Linked DNA regions of Homo sapiens: all the other regions are linked to region 2. The links are contacts of gene promoters, found by promoter capture Hi-C in human tissues and cell types (Jung and others, 2019). All regions are on one chromosome and are shown on one strand. Each heading gives the region's core, a stretch centred on a gene start or on the middle of the fragment in contact. The rest is flanking DNA. Distances are from core to core; before and after follow the strand shown. Region 1 overlaps GBF1 (golgi brefeldin A resistant guanine nucleotide exchange factor 1). Region 2 holds the start of NFKB2 (nuclear factor kappa B subunit 2). Region 3 overlaps GBF1 (golgi brefeldin A resistant guanine nucleotide exchange factor 1).

Region 1 (2,946 bases), core at 149-2,648, 110 kb after region 2:
GTCCATAGTGCAAAGGGTCACTTGGGATTCTTGCAAAAAGTGAAACTTACCTAGTTGCTTTCCACTCACCAAAACTGGTTGCAGAAATGTCAGTGGACGTCTATGTCTGTATTCCCACTGGAGGCTCACTGAACCTAAGCTTCTTTAGCAGCTAAAAAGTCTCCCCTCCTTGGAGACTTAACATCTATTGAGACTTCACAAAGATTTCACATTATACAAGACCACAGTAAGAAATTTCCTCCTCTTCCACCACAGCTCAATTCGGAGTTCTTTGGAAACACAGGTACTTCACTGTCTCCTGTTTTGCATTCTGAATAAGAGATCCTCCCACGTTTTTCCCCTACCTACAGGTTAAAACTTGCCAACAGACAAGACTTACTGGTAGAAGCACTTTGAATAGTCATTCTTCATATTGTCACTTTGTCTTTCATATTTCTCTTTCAAATTGTTGAGGCAAAAGCATTTTCAGAGTATGAGGTCTATCCTCTAGTATTCAATACCTGTTACATCTTTGCTGTCATCAACAACCTCCCAGCCTCCTAGCAGAAGGCCTCAGTCACCCAAGCCCTTAAAGACTCCTATAATTGGTGGTTTATACTTTCTCCCCTGTCCTAATCCCACTTCATCATGCCATGAAGATACACAATATTTGCAAATTTTCTAAAGCTCTTTCTCATTGTTTTGCTCATTGCTATTTCCACAGCTTCCTTTTGGAGATAAAGCCAGGCCCTTCCTGGCCTCAAGAATTTACCTGTGCCTGGACACAACTAGAAGAGGGCAATAGTCACCAGAGGGTCCAAACACAGCTTCTATGCTCATAGCTACATATAATAAAAGCATAAACGGAGAATGATCCCCTTTCCCATTAATTAAAATGGCTCTACTAACAAGTGGTTGTTAAGGGTATCAATAAACTGCCTACCCTCTGTCATCTTAGGTTGAAGTACTTTAAAAGTTACCTTTTAGGATCCAGGTACTATCTTCACTACTACTTCTCTGGGCAAGATGAGTGACTCCTTACCTTAAGATCTGATGGTTTGTACCTCAATAGTTTCCACCTCCTTGTGATAATCTTTTAATAGTATCTAGGATCATTAGTAACCCGCTACTTTACCTCCTCTCACCTCTCCCCTTTACTCATCCCTCCGGACAGAGCATTCAGAGTCAGTTAAGTGCCATGTCTTATTGAATTTTTAAATTTTTCTACTATCTCTTAGCACTGCAGTTCTGTGAATCTCCTTACTCCAAGCCAGAACTTCAGCCTACCCAATTAGAGACTGGAATTTAAAAACTCATGTTCCTATTCCCAGATAGTTAACACCACACGTGCTGGAAATAGGCTAGTTGGGTTAGTGTTCATGCTATACTCTCAGCAGACTTTCCTACTGAACCTGGTATCCAACAACAGGGACCAGTAAGCAGCCTGAAGTCTGTTGCCAGGGAACAAGGCTAACTCAGGATTTTCTGCCATCAGTTCCTTTGGTAGACATAGCAGAATCAAAGAGAAAGGGGTTTTCCCAAAATAATTGTGATTAAAATAATAATGTTAATTTGTCTCCAGCAAGACAGAAGAGTCCAGGAACAAGCTAGACTCACCTCTGTCTCTTGTTCCTCTTCAGTAAATGGCCCACCTGAAGGTTAGCTGTAAGTCTGCCCTTATTCACGTGAAAAGCAAATAAATAACCTCATCGCCTTTTTCCAAATCATAATCACACTTTAAAAGAAGCTTTTACTGTATAACCTTGAAAATGTTACTTAATTTTTCTGGAACCTGAGTTTTATCTGTAAAAGGGGAATATTAATAAAGGCACAGTCTATCTTGTGAGTTTTTGTGAAACTTGAAAAGAATACAGGCGGCCGGGCGCGGTGGCTCACACCTGTAATCCCAGCACTTTGAGAGGCCGAGGCGGGTGGATCACAAGATCAGGAGATTGAGACCATCCTGGCTAACACGGTGAAACCCCATCTCTACTAAAAAATACAAAAAAAAAAAAAATTAGCCGGGTGTGGTGGTGGGCGCCTGTAGTCCCAGCTACTCAGGAGGCTGAGGCAGGAGAATGGCAGGAACCTGGGAGGCGGAGCTTGCAGTGAGCCAAGATCGCGCCACTGCACTCCAGCCTGGGCGACAGAGCGAGACTCTGTCTCAAAAAAAAAAAAAAGAAAAGAAAGAAAAAAGAAAAGAAAAAGAATACAGGCAAACTGTTACAGCCAAGTGGAACCTAACAAGATGTGATGACTAAATGTAATGTGGTATCCTAGATGGAATCCTTGAACAGAAAAAGGCCATTAAGTAAAAACCTAATGAAATCTGAATAAAGTATGGACTTTAATTAATGATGAATCAATATTTGTTCATTAATTGTGACAAATGTGTCATATTAATGTAAGATGTTAATAACAGGGGAAACTGGGCATTGGATAGATGAGAACTTCTTTACAACTCTTCTATAAATATGTTTATAGAAATAATCTATTATAGATTATGTATGAGTCTAAGTTATAATATAACAATTTATATAAATATAATTTATAGATAATTTATAAAAATATAATTTATAGATTATAATTTATGTGCTTTATAGATTCTAAAATTGAAAGGCTATAATGAAAAACCACTTTATAAATTATAAAGTTCTAGTCAATTGTAAAATATCACATAATTTAGTAGATTTAGTATTTTATGCAGATTGTTGGTAAGGTAGGTAGCTATCTTAAGTAGCTCAGATAACAGAGATCACTTGAAGAGTTAAGTGCTGGTGTGGAAGAGTCTAGCCCCCAGAAATATCCCAGCTGTTTCCTGCCAGCTGGTGCCTCATGTCTGACTTGCAATAGAGTTGATTTTCTTTACGTAATTATTTTTGCCTCTCAACCCGTCTATTTCACTAAAAGAACAGTAACTTTTTAAAAAGAGGCTTTAAGCAGATAGGTGCTTTAATTTAAAACTTC
Region 2 (3,258 bases), core at 688-3,187:
GAGAAGGAGCCATCACTGGCTCTAAGGAAGGCAGAGAAGCGCAGCCGCACTATACTCAGATCCATCACCTTCTTCAGTTCTTTGGCCTCTTGCTCCAGCTCCCGCTGCTCGGCCTCTGGGCAGTAGGTACATGTGTGACCCCTGGGCTTCTCCCTCCCTGCTCCTTCCATGAGCACCTCCCATGACCCACCCACCCCCTGCACCCATACCCGACCCACCCCCTGCACCCATACCCGTAAGGCCCTGGGGCCTAGAGCGGAGCCGCTGCCTCTGAAGTTTTTGTATCATAGTCCCCATCATGTTCTTCTTAGTCACATGCAGGACACCCAGGTTGTTAAATCTGAGAAGAGAGAATCGGAGGCCTTTGGCCATGCAGTTCTTTCTTCCTGAGGCACCTTTCCCATTGCCAGGGCTCAGCTCAGCCTTACTTCCTCAAGGAAGCCATTGGAGTTTCTACTTAGGCCCTTGGGTTTGGGGCCAACCTACATCTTTCCCCTTGGTCAGATGCTAAGCTCATGGAGGTGGGCTGGGGCCTGGGACTGGCAGACGGGCATACCAGTGGGGGCCAGGCGTAGAGGGCACCTACTGGGCAGTCATGTCCTTGGGCCCCACAGAAACGGCGCAGATCCCCAGCTCCGAGCATTGCTTGCCCACCAGACTGTGGGCATGAGCACGAGGTGGGTCACTGTGTGTTACCAGGTCCACCTCGATCTTGGCTGGTCCCTCGTAGTTACAGATCTAGGAGAGGCAGGGACTGTCAGTCAGGGCCTTGGGCATGCTGTCCACTTAGCCCACCCTCCAGCACCATCCTGGCTCACCTTGACAGTGGGATAGGTCTTTCGGCCCTTCTCACTGGAGGCACCGGGCAGTCCTCCATGGGAGGGGCCTTCACAGCCATATCGAAATCGGAAGCCTCTCTGAAGGTCCAAGGGCATAGTAGCATTGTGATCAGGGAAGACCACCCAGGCCAGCAGTGACCGCAGTGCCTGGTAGTAGCCCTGAACCAAACTACAGCACTCTGATCAGCAGCAGTGACCATCCAATCCCCTGTGGCCTCCTTCGGCAATGGCTCCTCCATGGCCAGCCAGCTACCACTACCCCATTTGTCCCCAAAGCTGAAGCCATTCCACACCCTCCCTTTTGCTCACTCACCTGCTTAGGCTGTTCCACGATCACCAGGTAGGGGCCATCAGCTGGGGACAGAGAGACCTTGCTGAGCCACGATCTCCCAGCCCCTCCCCCAGAGAGAGGGCACATGCTCTCCCTCCCCCGCTTTAGGACTAGGGGAGGTTAGTGAACTTGCTGACCTGTTTCTGGGGCTGGCTCCTTGGGTTCCACAATGGAGGAGTTCAATTTGAAATCATCATATTCAATAATACCATCCAGACCCTGGTTTGGAGACAGACTGGGGGTGGCATCCGACTCTCAGCACCCCCCACAGCCCCACCTCCCATCTCCAAGTCTTCAGTGGTCACTCCCCCCTCCTCCTCAGACCCAAGAGAAAGCTCCTTTTGGAGGCAGAGTTGCAGACAGATGGACAGACTGGCAGGCTGAGAGCATCTGCGAGCATACAGGTGTAAGGCAGCAGAGGGGGCTCGGGCAGACAGGTGGACAGACACGAGGGGCAGCCGGCCGGGTCAGGGGCAGGCGGCATGACTCACTGGGTTGTAGCAACTCTCCATGTCTCTGGGCTAGGCCCGGCTCTGTCTAGTGGCTCCGGCCAGGTTCTGCTTCCCAGAATTTTAGACGCCCGCCTAAAGTTGGGAGGAGTGGCGTGGGGGAGGGGGTCAGATCTAAATGGGGGTGGGCGGGAGATGGGGGCCCAGATTTGGGGGAGGGTCCGACCTCCTCCAGCCGCCTGTCCGGGTGTGGCGGGTGAGATCCGGTGGAGAGCGAGATCCGGAGTTGGGCTTGGCCGGGGAAGGGGCAGGAAAGTTAGAGCAGCTTAGGAAAGTCCCGAAAATACCAAGGGGAGGCGGGGCCGGAGGGGGCGGGCCTGGAAATGACGCCACTGGCCCCGCCCTCGCGACGGGAGGGGCGGGAGGCCCTCGACAGTCTACGGGCTCCCGCTGCTTTTCAGCGGGCAGAGGTCTAGGAGAATCCGGGAAGCCCCGGTGGGGGTTAAGCCCCCTCCTCCCTCCAGGGCAGGGAACAGGAGGGTCTTTCACGGCCGGGAGGAGGCTGGCAGTCTGGGGCCAAGTCCGCCTCCCGCTCCCCTCCCCCGGTCTGGAGCAACCTTGGGATTTTCTGCCAGGAGGGAGGCCACGGCTGATAAACCCCGGGGGCTTTTGGGGGGACATTCCTGCTGTCGGACGGCCTCCCCTTCGAACAGCCTGTAGGCGGGGGCTCTTTCCTGTGGGAGGCCCCGGGGTTCTGCCCCGAGAACGCGATTCTGGGGCTGCGGGAAAAGTGTCTCCTCCTCGGAGTGGGCTCTTTTCTCTCTCTCCCAAACCTCACAACAGCAGCTGGTCCCACACCGCACCGGTTCTGGGCGCGCAGGCGACAGGGAGATCTCTGCACGCTCCCCCCCCCCCCCCCCCACCTAATACAAGAGTGTGTCTCCATCACAGCTCCACAAGTGTGTTTCGGCTGTAGTGCTTGGTTGCATGTTGTGTGTCCATGGCGTCAACATGAGTGTGCAAGCGAGCATGTGTGTAGATAGGTGAATCCCGAGCTTCTCAGTGTGGGTGTGTGTCAGCGCCTGTCTTGATGTACGGACACGGGTGAGCGTATCTTGAGTTTGTGCGTGAAGGGTGTGGGTGCAGGCACCAGTGCACCGGTGGGCACGTCTCCGTGTGCATGTGTGTGCGAGTGCGACTGCACGGACGCTGCCGTGTGTGCGCCAGCACAGGTACAGGTGTACGTACGGGTCCGCGTATCTTTGTACAACGGTGTCGACGTGGATCCGAGTGTCGTCGCCTGCGCGCCCTTTCCGGCTGTGTGCAGCTGCTGCTCTCCAGCCCCAGGCGCTGTCCGCTAAAGGCCCTCCTCCCTCTTTTCTCTTGTCCCGGCCACCCAGGGGTCTGAATCCAGCCACTCACCGTGGCGGCGGCTCTGGTTGCGGCTTCTCTCCGCGCCCGACCCACCTGGGACCGGTCGCGACACCTCGCCTGCCAGCAGGGCTCAGGGCCGGGAAAGCCCCTTCTCGGCCCCCCGGAGGGGGGAATTCCCATGACGTTTCCGTGCGTCACGCCTCGCGCCCTTTTTCATTGGCTGAAAGTTTAACTCTGGACTGGCGCAGCCAACCCGGAGCGACTC
Region 3 (2,859 bases), core at 163-2,662, 68 kb after region 2:
TATCCCTTCAGTGTATAGGACCTTACTTATTCACTCTCACTTACTGTACTATCAGAGTACAGAGTTAATGTTTTCCCAAGAGCTGGAAATAGTTACTACAGCAGCATATCATAAATTCTTAGTGACAACAAGACTAAGGGGTCTTTTTATTTTTATTTTTTTTGAGAGAGGGTTTCACTCTGTCACCCTGGCTGGAGTGCAGTGGCACAGTCTCGGCTCACTGCAACCTCTCAAGTAATCCTTCCACCTCAGCCTCCCAAGTAGCTGGGACTAAAGCGTGTGCCACCACACTTGGCTAATTAAAAAAAATTTTTTCTTTGTAGAGACGAGGTCCTGCTATTATTTCCCAGGCTGGTTTTGAACTCCTGGGTTCAAGTGATCCTCCTTCCTTGGCCTCCCAAAGTGCTAGGATTATAGGCATGAGCCACTGTGCCCAGCCAGATTAAGAAGTCTTTATGCTGTTTCAGCCACCCTCATGCTAAAAGGCTCAAGAACTTTATGATAAGGGATATTTCCCATTTTACTGATGGGGAAAACAAAAGCGTCAAAAATAGATGGAGCTAGGATAAGTATGGTAATCACTTGCCACTGCTGTCTCTAGACATGTCTGTGAGCTGGACAGTAAACAAATAAAGCTTATGGAAGCAGCAGTACCCTGAAAAGTCACACCTTATTTGCTCGAAAGGTGCTGACAGAACCTTTAAGACAGCTGAATCTGGAGGAGCAATCCTCAAAGGGTTGGAAAACAATTTCACAAAACATGGGACAGAAGCTGGGCCCAGCCAACACCTGTTTCCCCAACACTGTCTGTCTGTCTGTCTCTTGTTTTATCCCAACTGCACACTTAATACAAAAGCTCCATTATTCTGGTAAAGTTGCATTCCAGCCCAGAGTGCAGAGTTAATGTTTTTTACAGCCACATGCCTTCTTGTGACGGATGACCACTTTATAATAAAATACTTTATGCTCAATCAACTTACAAATAATGGGTATTCCATTACATGGCATTTAAAACACAACCAAATTCAGAAAAATCCAGAAAGAAATAAGAATAGAAACAAGAATGATTCCTAGAAAGAGAGGAGGGCCGCCAGAGAATCCTCTGTAAGTCCTTCACTCCCAAAGAATTTATCCATTCTCTTATTGAAGGATATTTGAGTTGTTTCCAGTTATTTACTATTACTGCTGTATACATTCCTATAAAAGTCTCTTTGTAAATGTGTTTGTTTCTCTTGACTAAATACCTAAGAGCGAAAGTGCTCAGCCACAGGGTAGATGTGCATTTAACTTTAAAAGAAACAGTTCTTCAATGTTGCTGCACACCCCTCCCCTCTCCACCAGCTCTATATTTTCCTCCCCTAAGGGCCTAGGTTCTTTAAGTTGAGGATTTGGCAGGAGAGAAGAAGCCACATCATGAGGATCCCTGCTGCCAGAGCACAGTGGCCTGAATCGGACACTTAAAAAGCTGAAACAGGTGTTTGAAACCCTACTCCAGCCTCCCTGTTTGGTGCCAGCCCCCTGAGAGGCTAAGGCTTGGCCAGGAGAATTCGGCTCATCTAATGGATGCCGATTAGAGACTTTTACAAGACATAGCTACATAATAGTGTATATGCTGTGACGTGGTACATTTAAAGCAGGTAAGTGAACATCTTAATCTTAAGGAGGGGGGCCTCTGGTGGTCCAAATGCTCTTGAGCAAAGGGTAGTCAGGCTACGTGCCAGATGAAAGCCCTTCACCAACCTCTACCTTTTCTCCTTATATATCCACACAATTGACTACCACTCAGAAAAGCAAAACAGAAAAAAACTACTGATATATGCAACATGGATAAATTCCAAAAACATGCTAAGCTAAAAGAAGCTAGCTATGAAAGAGTATATCCTGTGTGATTCCATTTATATGAAATCCAAAAACAAAACTTATCCATAGTGATAGAAAATGGTTTTGTATATATGTGTGGGGTTGGGGGACTCAAAGAGGCATGGGGGATATTTCTGGGGAGATGAAATGTTCTGTGTATTCTTTATTCATGCTGGTTACATGGTTTATACAATTATCAAAACTTACCAACTGAACACCTAACATCTGCATATTTTATTGTATGTTAATTATACCTCAAGTTGAAAAAAAAGGAAAGCCAGATGGGGGCTTGGGGTGAGCTTCCCCTACTTGGTATTATTTGGGAGAATGAAGAAAGAACAGAAGAAACAAGTTTGCTTCCCAACTCACCAGTCTGGGAGCAGAGACTCAACAGCCAGCTGAACTGCCACCTCAGTGCCCCTTGGGCAACCTTTGTAGAAAAATGAGGTTTTCAGGTGGTAGCTTATAATATTCTCATTGAAGCCCTGTTACTCCCCAAGGGAATGATATTGAAATGTCTTCAACAGTGTTTACTTCCCCATTGCTAAAAGTATGATCAGCATTCCAATTTAGAAGCAAGTTTACATACTTGGCGTAAACTTGCATACTAGGCCCTGAGCACTTAGAACTCAGATAGCGTTCAAAAAAATTAAATTATAACCATAGTAATAGACAAGTAAGACAGATCTTTAGTTCCAGAGCTGCCACTACTCCGTTATGAGGCCTTGCATGACATGACCTTTTCCGAGCCACAGTTCTTTCCGTATAAAATAGGCCAGGTGACCTCTATACTTCATTTCAGTTCTAACACTGTATGATTTTAGAACTCTTATAAGTGTAGGCTGGGCGCAGTGGCTCACACCTATAATCCCAGCACTTTGGGAGGCCGAGGCAGGTGGATCACTTGAGGTCAGGAGTTCAAGACCAGCCTCGCCAACATGGCAAAACCCCATCTCTACTAAAAATACAAAAATTAGTTAGGTGTGGTGGCATGTGCCT

The links. Contacts are between HindIII fragments. The study calls those that stand out against the background at their distance.
Region 1: a fragment that was not itself captured here is called in contact with the fragment with the promoter of NFKB2 in region 2 in 3 of the 25 tissues and cell types used here (bladder, hippocampus and neural progenitor cells).
Region 3: a fragment that was not itself captured here is called in contact with the fragment with the promoter of NFKB2 in region 2 in 2 of the 25 tissues and cell types used here (neural progenitor cells and psoas muscle).

What each region holds. Positions count from the first base shown.
Region 1 is chr10:102,281,144-102,284,089 of GRCh38, reverse strand. The region is part of intron 3 of GBF1 (golgi brefeldin A resistant guanine nucleotide exchange factor 1); the gene reads right to left. Among named protein-coding and RNA genes, the nearest start is that of GBF1, 37 kb to the right of the region's middle. The HindIII fragment of the contact is 3,528 bases long and covers 1-2,946 here.
Region 2 is chr10:102,394,384-102,397,641 of GRCh38, reverse strand. It overlaps NFKB2 (nuclear factor kappa B subunit 2), which reads right to left and starts at 1,937. Exons shown (of 23, transcript NM_001322934.2): 1 at 1,846-1,937; 2 at 1,662-1,754; 3 at 1,308-1,389; 4 at 1,153-1,193; 5 at 819-917; 6 at 587-738; 7 at 234-340; 8 at 1-115. The coding sequence starts at 1,682. RefSeq lists enhancers at 1,342-1,461, 1,872-1,921, 2,972-3,258. The HindIII fragment of the contact is 8,929 bases long and covers 1-3,258 here.
Region 3 is chr10:102,325,791-102,328,649 of GRCh38, reverse strand. The region is part of intron 3 of GBF1 (golgi brefeldin A resistant guanine nucleotide exchange factor 1); the gene reads right to left. Among named protein-coding and RNA genes, the nearest start is that of NFKB2, 68 kb to the left of the region's middle. The HindIII fragment of the contact is 7,490 bases long and covers 1-2,859 here.